Regions from separate parts of the Homo sapiens genome. Here regions 1 and 2 are each linked to region 3. Evidence: promoter capture Hi-C in 16 types of primary human blood cells and fetal thymus (Javierre and others, 2016). All regions are on one chromosome and are shown on one strand. The core of a region is centred on a gene start or on the middle of the fragment in contact, and the rest is flanking DNA. Distances in the headings are between cores, read along the strand shown. Region 1 overlaps ANKHD1-EIF4EBP3 (ANKHD1-EIF4EBP3 readthrough). Region 2 overlaps ANKHD1-EIF4EBP3 (ANKHD1-EIF4EBP3 readthrough). Region 3 holds the start of HARS2 (histidyl-tRNA synthetase 2, mitochondrial).

Region 1 (2,880 bases), core at 166-2,665, 180 kb before region 3:
CGCAAGGTAATTTGATATGGGGGAAGAAAGGTCAATTTTAAGCCAATTCTAAGTTAAAACCATGTGAGAAAGATAAGTTTATCTTGGAGAATTGAGTATATTTCCATAGAAAAATCACTGCTATCTTTCCATTCTTTTTTTTTTTTTTTTTTTTTGAGACGGAGTCTTACTCTGTCACATAGGCTAGAATGCAGTGGCATGATCGCGGCTCACTGCAACCTCTGCCTCCCAGGTTCAAGTGATTCTCCTGCCTCAGCCTCCTGAGTAGCTGGGATTACAGGCATGCGTCACCACACCCGGCTAATTTTTGTATTTTTAGTAGAGATGGGGTGTCACCACGTTGGTCAGGCTGGTCTCAAACTCCTGACTTTGTGATCTGCCTGCCTCAGCCTCCCAAAGTGCTAGGATTACAGGCTCCCGACCTTATCTTTCCATTCTTTTGTGGCCAAATCTAAGATCTATGTGGTAGTTCACTATAAGCAACTTGGTTGTTAAATCACTTGGTGTCTTGACTATTTGTGATACATTGTTCATGAAACAGAAGATTTAAGAAAAACTATTATATGCAGATGGATTTTTTTGTGCCTAAAGAGGAACAAAAAGGAGTAGACTTTCATAAAAACTTACTGTATCTTCTGTGTGCGTGTGTGTGTGTGTGTGTGAGTATGAAACGGTCTCAGTCTGTCAACCAGGCTGGAGTGCAGTGGCATGATCATAGCTCACTATAGCCTCAACCTCCCAGGCTCAATTGATCCTCCCGCCTCAGCCTCCTGAGTAGCTGGGACCACAGGTGTCACTACCATGCTCAGATTTTTTTTATTTTTACTTTTTGTAGAGACGAGGTCTTGCTATGTTGCCCAGGCTGGTCTCAAACTCCTGGGCTCAGCGATTCTCCCACCTCTGCCTGCCAAAGTGCTGAGATATGGGCGTGAGCCATGCCTCTCATATATATTAAAGTTCATGCCCGGCCTCTCATATATATTAAAGTTCACTTATCTGCTGTATTTTTAAAAGCCTTCCCATTGGTATAGCTTCCCAAACTATAAACTACTTAGTAGGGCATGTAAAGACCTGCATAATAAGCTTCATGTCAACCTCCCCATACAAATCATTTATGCTACTATCCCCTTTTGCTCACTGTTTTCTAGTTACTGGCCTAGAATGCACTAAATTTTCAACTGCCTCAGGGCCTTTGCTCACTGATTTTCTTTTCCTGAAATGATTTCCTTTGCTGTTCACCTAGCTCACCTCTCTACTCATCTGTTAGCTCCAATTTTACATGTCAGTTCTCAAAGAGTATTTCTCTAACACCAAATCTGAAAAAGGTCCCTCTGTTTCTCTTTTATAGTTGAGTTTTGATTTTCCTTACCCCAATTTGTAATTATATCTTCAAACATGTACTTACCATTTTAATGCCTGTCTCGCCAACTAGACTGGTAGGTCCATGAGGACAAGAGTCATGACCATCTTTTTCAGCACTGTTTATATACCCAGTTGTTTAGCACAGTGCAATTTACATATAGTGAAATGCATGAATCTTAAGGTACATGGTTTAGTTTTGATAAACGTATACATACATGTAACCCATACCCCATAAACATATAAATTATTTCTGTAACCCTAGAAGGTTCCCTCTTGCCCACTTTTAGTCACTTCCCTGCCCCAGAGGCAAGCATTTCTCTGATTTGTATCTCCATCACACTAATTCTTAAGGATGTTTTAGAACCTTGGTAGGAAGGGAAACTATGCAAGCTTGGTTACATTAAAATAGATATGCTGGCCGGGTGCGGTGGCTCACGCCCATAATCCCAGCACTTTGGGAGGCCGAGTCAGGTGGATCACCTGAGGTCAGGAGTTCAAGACCAGCCTGGCCAACATGGTAAATCCCCGTCTCTACTAAAAATACAAAAATTAGCCAGGCGTGATGGTAGGCACCTGTAATCTCAGCTACTCCGGAGGCTGAGGCAGGAGAGTTGCTAGAACCCGGGAGGCGGAGGTTGCAGTGAGACAAGAGCGTGCCGTGGCACTCCAGCCGGGGCAACAACAGCGAGACTCCCATCTCAAAAAAAAAAAAAAAAAGATATGCTTAGAATTGATTACAGATCTTTCAACCCTTGATAATGGCATTTAGAAAGTGTTTTATTTAGATTCAAGTCCTAAGGCTCAGAAAGTTGTGATAGTCCACCTTGTTTAGTTAGTGAAGTAGAGGCAAAGTAAGACTTTGAAATTTAAAAAAAAATTACTTATTTTAGGACTCATTTCCCTTTTACACTGAGGTTCATTTTACATCACCAATGTTTGTTTAATAGATTTATTCTAGGAGATACTGTTTTTCTACAAAAGCTTTTTCTAATTTCAGTGGGATTAAATTCAGGAGAAATGTTGTCTAGTCCACCATCCATTCCTGAGCACACATTCTTGTCTTTTATGCCTTTCTTTTTATAAGCTGAATGCTGATCTTATTTTTATAATTTTAATTTTAAGCTTAATATTCTATTTGGAAGTATTTGCCTTTTTATTCTTAAATTGGTAGGCATATATGCAAAATCAAGGGATTCCTTTGTAATTCTGTTGTTTTACTTTCTTTTATTCTTAAGAATAATAATTTTTCTTTTCATGCTACCTTGTCTAAGATTGTTGTACTTCTTATAGGGTCATGTAAAAGTTGTTCAATATTTGGTAAAGGAAGTAAATCAGTTCCCTTCTGATATAGAATGCATGAGATACATAGCAACAATTACAGATAAGGTAAGTTTAATATGCTACTGAAGCACATTTTTGTTCTTTGTGGAATGATATGCCAAAGTGTGCAGTTAGGAACTTGTTCTTTTTATATTCTGAAAGGTTGGTCACCTGATCTCTTTATGCGTTTGTTTCTCC
Region 2 (2,700 bases), core at 48-2,547, 220 kb before region 3:
GTGCTGCAATCTTGGCTCCCTGCAGCCTCTGCCTCCTGGGTTCAAGCGATTATCCTGCCCCAGCCTCCCAAGTAACTGGGATTACAGGCGCGTGCCACCGTGCCTACCTAATTTTTTGCATCTTTAGTAGAGACGGGGTTTCACCATGTTGGCTGGGCTGGTCTCGAACTCCTGACCTTGTGATCTACCCGCCTCGGCCTCCTAAAGTGCTGGGATTACAGGCGTGAGTCACCGTGCCTGGCCTAAGTTTCTTAATTCTAAACCCCTCTTAATCATGATGCTTATTAAGTGTCTTCATCATTGGCTTGTTAAATGAGAAGCTGTTTTATTTATTCTGTTGAGATTTTTAAAAATTTTTTAAATTTTTTTTTTTTGAGACAGGGTCTCACTCTGTTGCTCAGGCTGGAATGCAGTGGTGTGCTCTTGGCTCACTGCAGCCTTCCCATCCCAGGCTCAAGTGATCTTCCTGCCTCAGCCTCCCCAGTAGCTGGGACTAGAGGCATGTGCCACCATGCCCAACTAATTTTTTTCATTTTTATAGAGATGAGGTCTCACTGTACTGTCCAGGCTGGATATATTTATTCTACTTTGAAGTAAGTAAGTTTATTTTACAAAATGTGATGTGAACATGTGAGCTTCTACTCAGTTTGTATAATATTATAGGCTCCTATCAAGAATGTAAAGCTGAGTGTTATTTCAGATCAAAGTAATTGTTTTTCCCTGGATTTGTTAGATGAAATGTAATTGTAAATCTTTCTCTCTAGCTGCAAGTCTCAAAACAGGATTTTTTTAAAAATGAGTTTTGCAGCCCCACGTTTACAGGTTCAGATTCCATAGATCTGAAATAGGGGGTCTGCATTTGAACTAATATCTCAGGAGATTCTGATGACAAGTTCTCCATATTTTACACTTTGAGACATTGGTAGAGGCCATACAGATTATTCTGCATCATTGCTGAGTTCTTTTCTTTTTCCATCTTTGCTTTATAATCGATCATTTTTCCTCCATCCAAATTGAATAAACTTGGTTTTTCTCTCTGTTACTTGTGATTTTTAGAAAATGTGCTAAACACAAGCCTTAGGACCAGTGCCTCTTAACCTTTTATCCATATCAGTTCTCCTGAGGGGTATGAATCCAATCAGTAATAGTAGATCACTAAGGTAATGATTAATATACAGTGGTGGGTTGAAGGAACATACTCCCCATGGAAGAGTATTGGAATCCTCTAGTACGTACAGTATCAAACAGTCTCCCTCCTTTTCTCTGTGATTTTGGTCTTTCTCCTTAGAGAATGTCCTCCCTCCAACTCCAAAAGACATTGCCTCTGTGGTATAGTTACAGTCCTTAAATATATGTCTTGGGTGCCCTGTGGCTGTGATTTTTTAAGGGAAATTAACTTATTTTAAATAAAATAAACTTAATTTAAAATAAAATTTTGTTATCTAAAGCCAAATAGAAAAAATTCCACATTTTTTCTTACAGTGCTCATTCATCAGAACCTTTTTTTTTTCTTCTTTTTTTTTTTTTTTTTGGAGATGGTCTCACTTTGTCGCTCAGGCTAGAGTACAAAAGCGTGATTATAGCTCACTGCAGCTTTGAACTCCTGGGCTCATGGCATCCCCTTTCCTCAGCCTCCTGAGTAGCTAGGACTACAGGTATGCACCACAATGCCTGGCTAATTTTTAAATTTTTTTTCAGAGACAAAGTCTTGCTATCTTGCCCAGACTTGTAGTGTATTTTTTATAGATATATTTTTAGGGAGCTTATGAGCTCTAGTAATCTACTTATCAATGTATTTCAACTGTTAGTAATTACCTTACCTTAATAAACTTTAAATGTGACCTTACCTTCCACTTTTTAACTTTTTTATTAAGGAATAGCGTATATACATATTTTTAACTTTACTACTTAAAACTAGGAAACTTCTGTCAATTTCTTAAAAATCTAAAACTACCTATGGAATACACAAAACTCCTAATACATTTCTTTTAAAGCCAAGTTCTCTCTTTCTATGTTATTGTGTATTGAATGAGTTCTTTTCAGCTCTCTCCAGGTTGTTTAAATATAAGTACAAATGACTTCAGTCAAGAAGGTAAAGTCATTATTAGTATATAGAAAAATGAATCTAAAAATATGTAGTCGTGCCCCAAAACAACAGGATTAAAGATCTCCGTGGACTAGAAGTGCAGCATGGATCCACAGTTTAAGCTGTAGTCCCAAGGAGAATTAAGGGCTAAAAAAATACACAATGGGGGCTGAGATTTCAGCATGTGCAGAGGAATAGGGAATGAATGCATTTCACATGTAGTACATCAGTAGATCTAGTCTACTTGAATAAAGCAAGGAACCGGCATCTTATTGCCCTACCTGTGAACCAAAATGGATAAAAAAATATTTGATCAACTATCTAGGGTTATGGTTAGAAATTAGCAAATTGTCATATCCAGGTTGTATGTAAAAAACAAAACAAAACAAACCCAAAAAAACTAAAAAAAAGGGGGGAAAAATTAGCAAATTGTCGTTAATGGAAGAAACAGAGACAACTGTGTAACTAAAAACTTGGAGGACAACCTTCTTGATTTAGGGAACAGAAGTGAAATATCTCTATGAGACAAGAACCTTAGGTGTCCAGCAAAATATCTACTTCTGAAATGGACTCCAAGAGCCAGACTGAGGGAACTTCCAAAACATCTGATGAGG
Region 3 (2,700 bases), core at 189-2,688:
TGGCTATCTCCTACTCATTCATTAGATCAGTTAGTATATCACTTCCTCAGTTAGCCTTTCTCAGACTCCCCAGTTCTCCCTTATTTTTCTCAGAGCAACCTTAATTTCTTTATATCATTTTTCACAATATGTAATTACATAACCACATGTGGTGGCCGGGTGCGGTGGCACACGTCTGTAATCCCAGCACTTTGGGAGACTGAGGCGGGCAGATCACTTGAGGTCAGAAGTTCAAGACCATCCTGGCCAATATGGTGAAACCCCGTCTCTACTAAAAATACAAAAATTAGCTGGGCATGGTGGTGGGCACCTGTAGTCCCAGCTACTCAGGAGGCTGAAGCAGGAGAATCGCTTGAACCCAGGAGGCAGCGGCTGCAGTGAGCCAAGATGTGCCACTGCACTCCAGCCTGTGCAACAGAGGATACTCTGTTTAAAAAAAAAACAAAAAAATCTGTGTGGGATTATTTGTTCTAAGTCTCTCTCCTTCAGTAGAATGTAAGCTCCATGAGGGTAGGCTATATTGTCCACCATGGTATATATTCAGTGCTTTGTATAGTGCTAGAGACATAGCGCTAAATACACATTTATTGAATGAACGAAGGAGTAGCAGCAGCAGGCTGACTCCCCTGATCACCCAGCTGGCCTAGTTTCTGCCATCACTTTGCCATCCCAGAATGACTCAGGTAGAGTCCAGTCCAGCCCAGCGCCCAGAGCGACTGTCCTCTCCTCTGCAGCATTTCAGATCCTCCTCAATGACCTGGTTTAGGGAGGCAGACATAAGCGCCCCGTGAGTAGAGTTAGAGACTTTCTCAGTGGCTCCCTACAGGAATGATATTACCTTGGGGGTTTTGAGCACAAATTTCTGTTTGCTTTCATCAGGACCCAGCTGTGCCTTCAGTTTCAGGAGTTTCGCCACCTCCTCCTCGATCTGTGGAGGGAAAGAAGGCGCTGAGCTATCCATCTGTCACTCTCCTCCCTCCCCCGCCATTCATTCAATATTCCTCCCTCATCACATCTCTCTGCTCAGGCCTAGCTTTGTTTCTCTCGGGACCCACCCCGGATGTCTCCCCACGCAGCCCACTCTCCTCCCTACAAGACTGGTCGCTTCCCTCACATCTCTACCCTATGTCCCGAACACCCTGGCTTTACGTCCTCCCAGGCTTTGCCTTGGCCCTCTCCCCTGCTGCCTAAATCTCACCAGCTCGGCGCTGGCCTTCTGCTGCTTGAGGCCTCGCACGCGCTCTCCCTGAAGTTTCACCAGCTCCTCCAGCGCCGCACGCTCTGCCATCCCGGCTGTCCACTTGAGCCGCCTGCTGTCTCGACCTGCGGTGGTTGCCCCAGCCTCAGCAAGGATGACTTCCGGCTATCGAGTCGCTGGGTCGCACGCCTAGAGAGCCTCCGCCGAGCACAAAAATTATTTCCGGCTCCTCCCGGAAGTGCCGAAGCTGGCTACTAAGGGAACTTGGGAGGATCCCACCTCAGCCTTCGTGACTAGTGAGGTGCGCAAACGCCCGAGTTTTCCCTGGTGCGCGGGTTCCGCCTTTGCAGTGCCCTCCACCCTTCCTGGTGTCTGACCCGCCTCCTTCCCAGGCCTTTTGTTCCTGTCCCGGAAAGCCGGCGTCCTGCCGCGCGATGCCCCTGCTCGGACTTCTTCCCAGGAGGGCCTGGGCTTCGCTGCTCAGCCAGCTCCTGCGACCGCCCTGCGCTTCGTGCACCGGGGCGGTCCGTTGCCAAAGCCAGGTGAGCGAGACAGAATTATCTCTGGTCTGTCCCAGCAGGGTCTCCAGATCTGAACGCATAGCCTCGCGGCCTGTATTCCAGTAGTGTTACAATCGGTTTTTATCGAGTGCCCACTATGTACTGACACTGAACTAAGCGATTTGGATGCCTGGTCATTTAATCCTTGGAGCAATCTTGAGAGGTTGGAGTTTTGATTTCCATTCTGCAGTTGAGGAAACGGAGGCTGCAAGATTAAATGAATGACTTATACACGGATATGTAGTAAGGGAGTATTTTAATTCATATCCACACTTTTTCCTGAAACTCTTGGACTCAAACAGTAACATTTTTAAGCGAAATATATGAATATTCCTAGTAAATGAGATGACTAAAGATCAGAAGTAGACTGAGTTCATCTTAGAATTTACCTCAAAATGAATCTCAGAAAAACATTTTCAGATGTCAGAGAGTTTTGGATTTTGGAATTGCAGATAAGGGATTGTGTACTTGAACTTGGACTTCTCTTAGGGCAGATAATCGCCATAGTATGGAACCACCACATCCTCTATTTTTGGAAGGGCATACAGCGTGCTGGTAATGTCACTGATTAAGTTTTGCCTTACTTCGGAAAGATTCTAATGCTCTCTTAGCAGATGCTTTGTGCTATCGTGAACAATAGGGCACAGATCTTTTATTGATATTCAATCACAGCATCTTATCAGTCTGAGTTTTTTAGCTCATTCAAGAAATCCATATCTTATCATTCCACAGGCTTGTTCTGTGTCCTTGAGCTGGTTCCCTTGTCTTCAAGTTACAGTTTTCCTCTCTCTAAACCTGATAACCAGTGCTACCTTATTAAAAATTATTATTTTTTTGTCCGGGCACAGTGGCTCATGCCTGTAATCCCATCACTTTGGGAGGCCAAGGGGGGTGGATCACCTGAGGTCAGGAGTTTGAGACCAGCCTGACCTGTATGGCGAA

What was found. Contacts are between HindIII fragments. The CHiCAGO score rates a contact against its expected background, and 5 or more counts as called.
Region 1: a contact is called between a fragment that was not itself captured here and the fragment with the promoter of HARS2 in region 3, in 1 of 17 cell types (M1 macrophages). The highest score is 5.3, in M1 macrophages.
Region 2: a fragment that was not itself captured here is called in contact with the fragment with the promoter of HARS2 in region 3 in 2 of 17 cell types (M2 macrophages and monocytes); the score reaches 7.3 in M2 macrophages.

The regions. Positions count from the first base shown.
Region 1 is chr5:140,510,176-140,513,055 of GRCh38, forward strand. ANKHD1-EIF4EBP3 (ANKHD1-EIF4EBP3 readthrough) reads left to right here. Exons shown (of 36, transcript NM_020690.6): 22 at 1-6; 23 at 2,653-2,748. ANKHD1 (ankyrin repeat and KH domain containing 1) reads left to right here. Exons shown (of 34, transcript NM_017747.3): 22 at 1-6; 23 at 2,653-2,748. Among named protein-coding and RNA genes, the nearest start is that of EIF4EBP3, 36 kb to the right of the region's middle. The HindIII fragment of the contact is 669 bases long and covers 1,082-1,750 here.
Region 2 is chr5:140,473,085-140,475,784 of GRCh38, forward strand. All of the region lies in intron 10 of ANKHD1-EIF4EBP3 (ANKHD1-EIF4EBP3 readthrough), which reads left to right. All of the region lies in intron 10 of ANKHD1 (ankyrin repeat and KH domain containing 1), which reads left to right. Among named protein-coding and RNA genes, the nearest start is that of ANKHD1-EIF4EBP3, 73 kb to the left of the region's middle. The HindIII fragment of the contact is 5,450 bases long and covers 1-2,700 here.
Region 3 is chr5:140,690,017-140,692,716 of GRCh38, forward strand. HARS2 (histidyl-tRNA synthetase 2, mitochondrial) reads left to right here and starts at 1,439. Exons shown (of 13, transcript NM_012208.4): 1 at 1,439-1,740. The coding sequence starts at 1,633. It overlaps HARS1 (histidyl-tRNA synthetase 1), which reads right to left and starts at 1,354. Exons shown (of 13, transcript NM_002109.6): 1 at 1,199-1,354; 2 at 839-928. The coding sequence starts at 1,288. RefSeq lists enhancers at 1,061-1,290, 1,451-1,540, 1,621-1,690 and promoters at 1,289-1,739, 1,289-1,410, 1,382-1,408, 1,473-1,789. The HindIII fragment of the contact is 4,332 bases long and covers 1-2,700 here.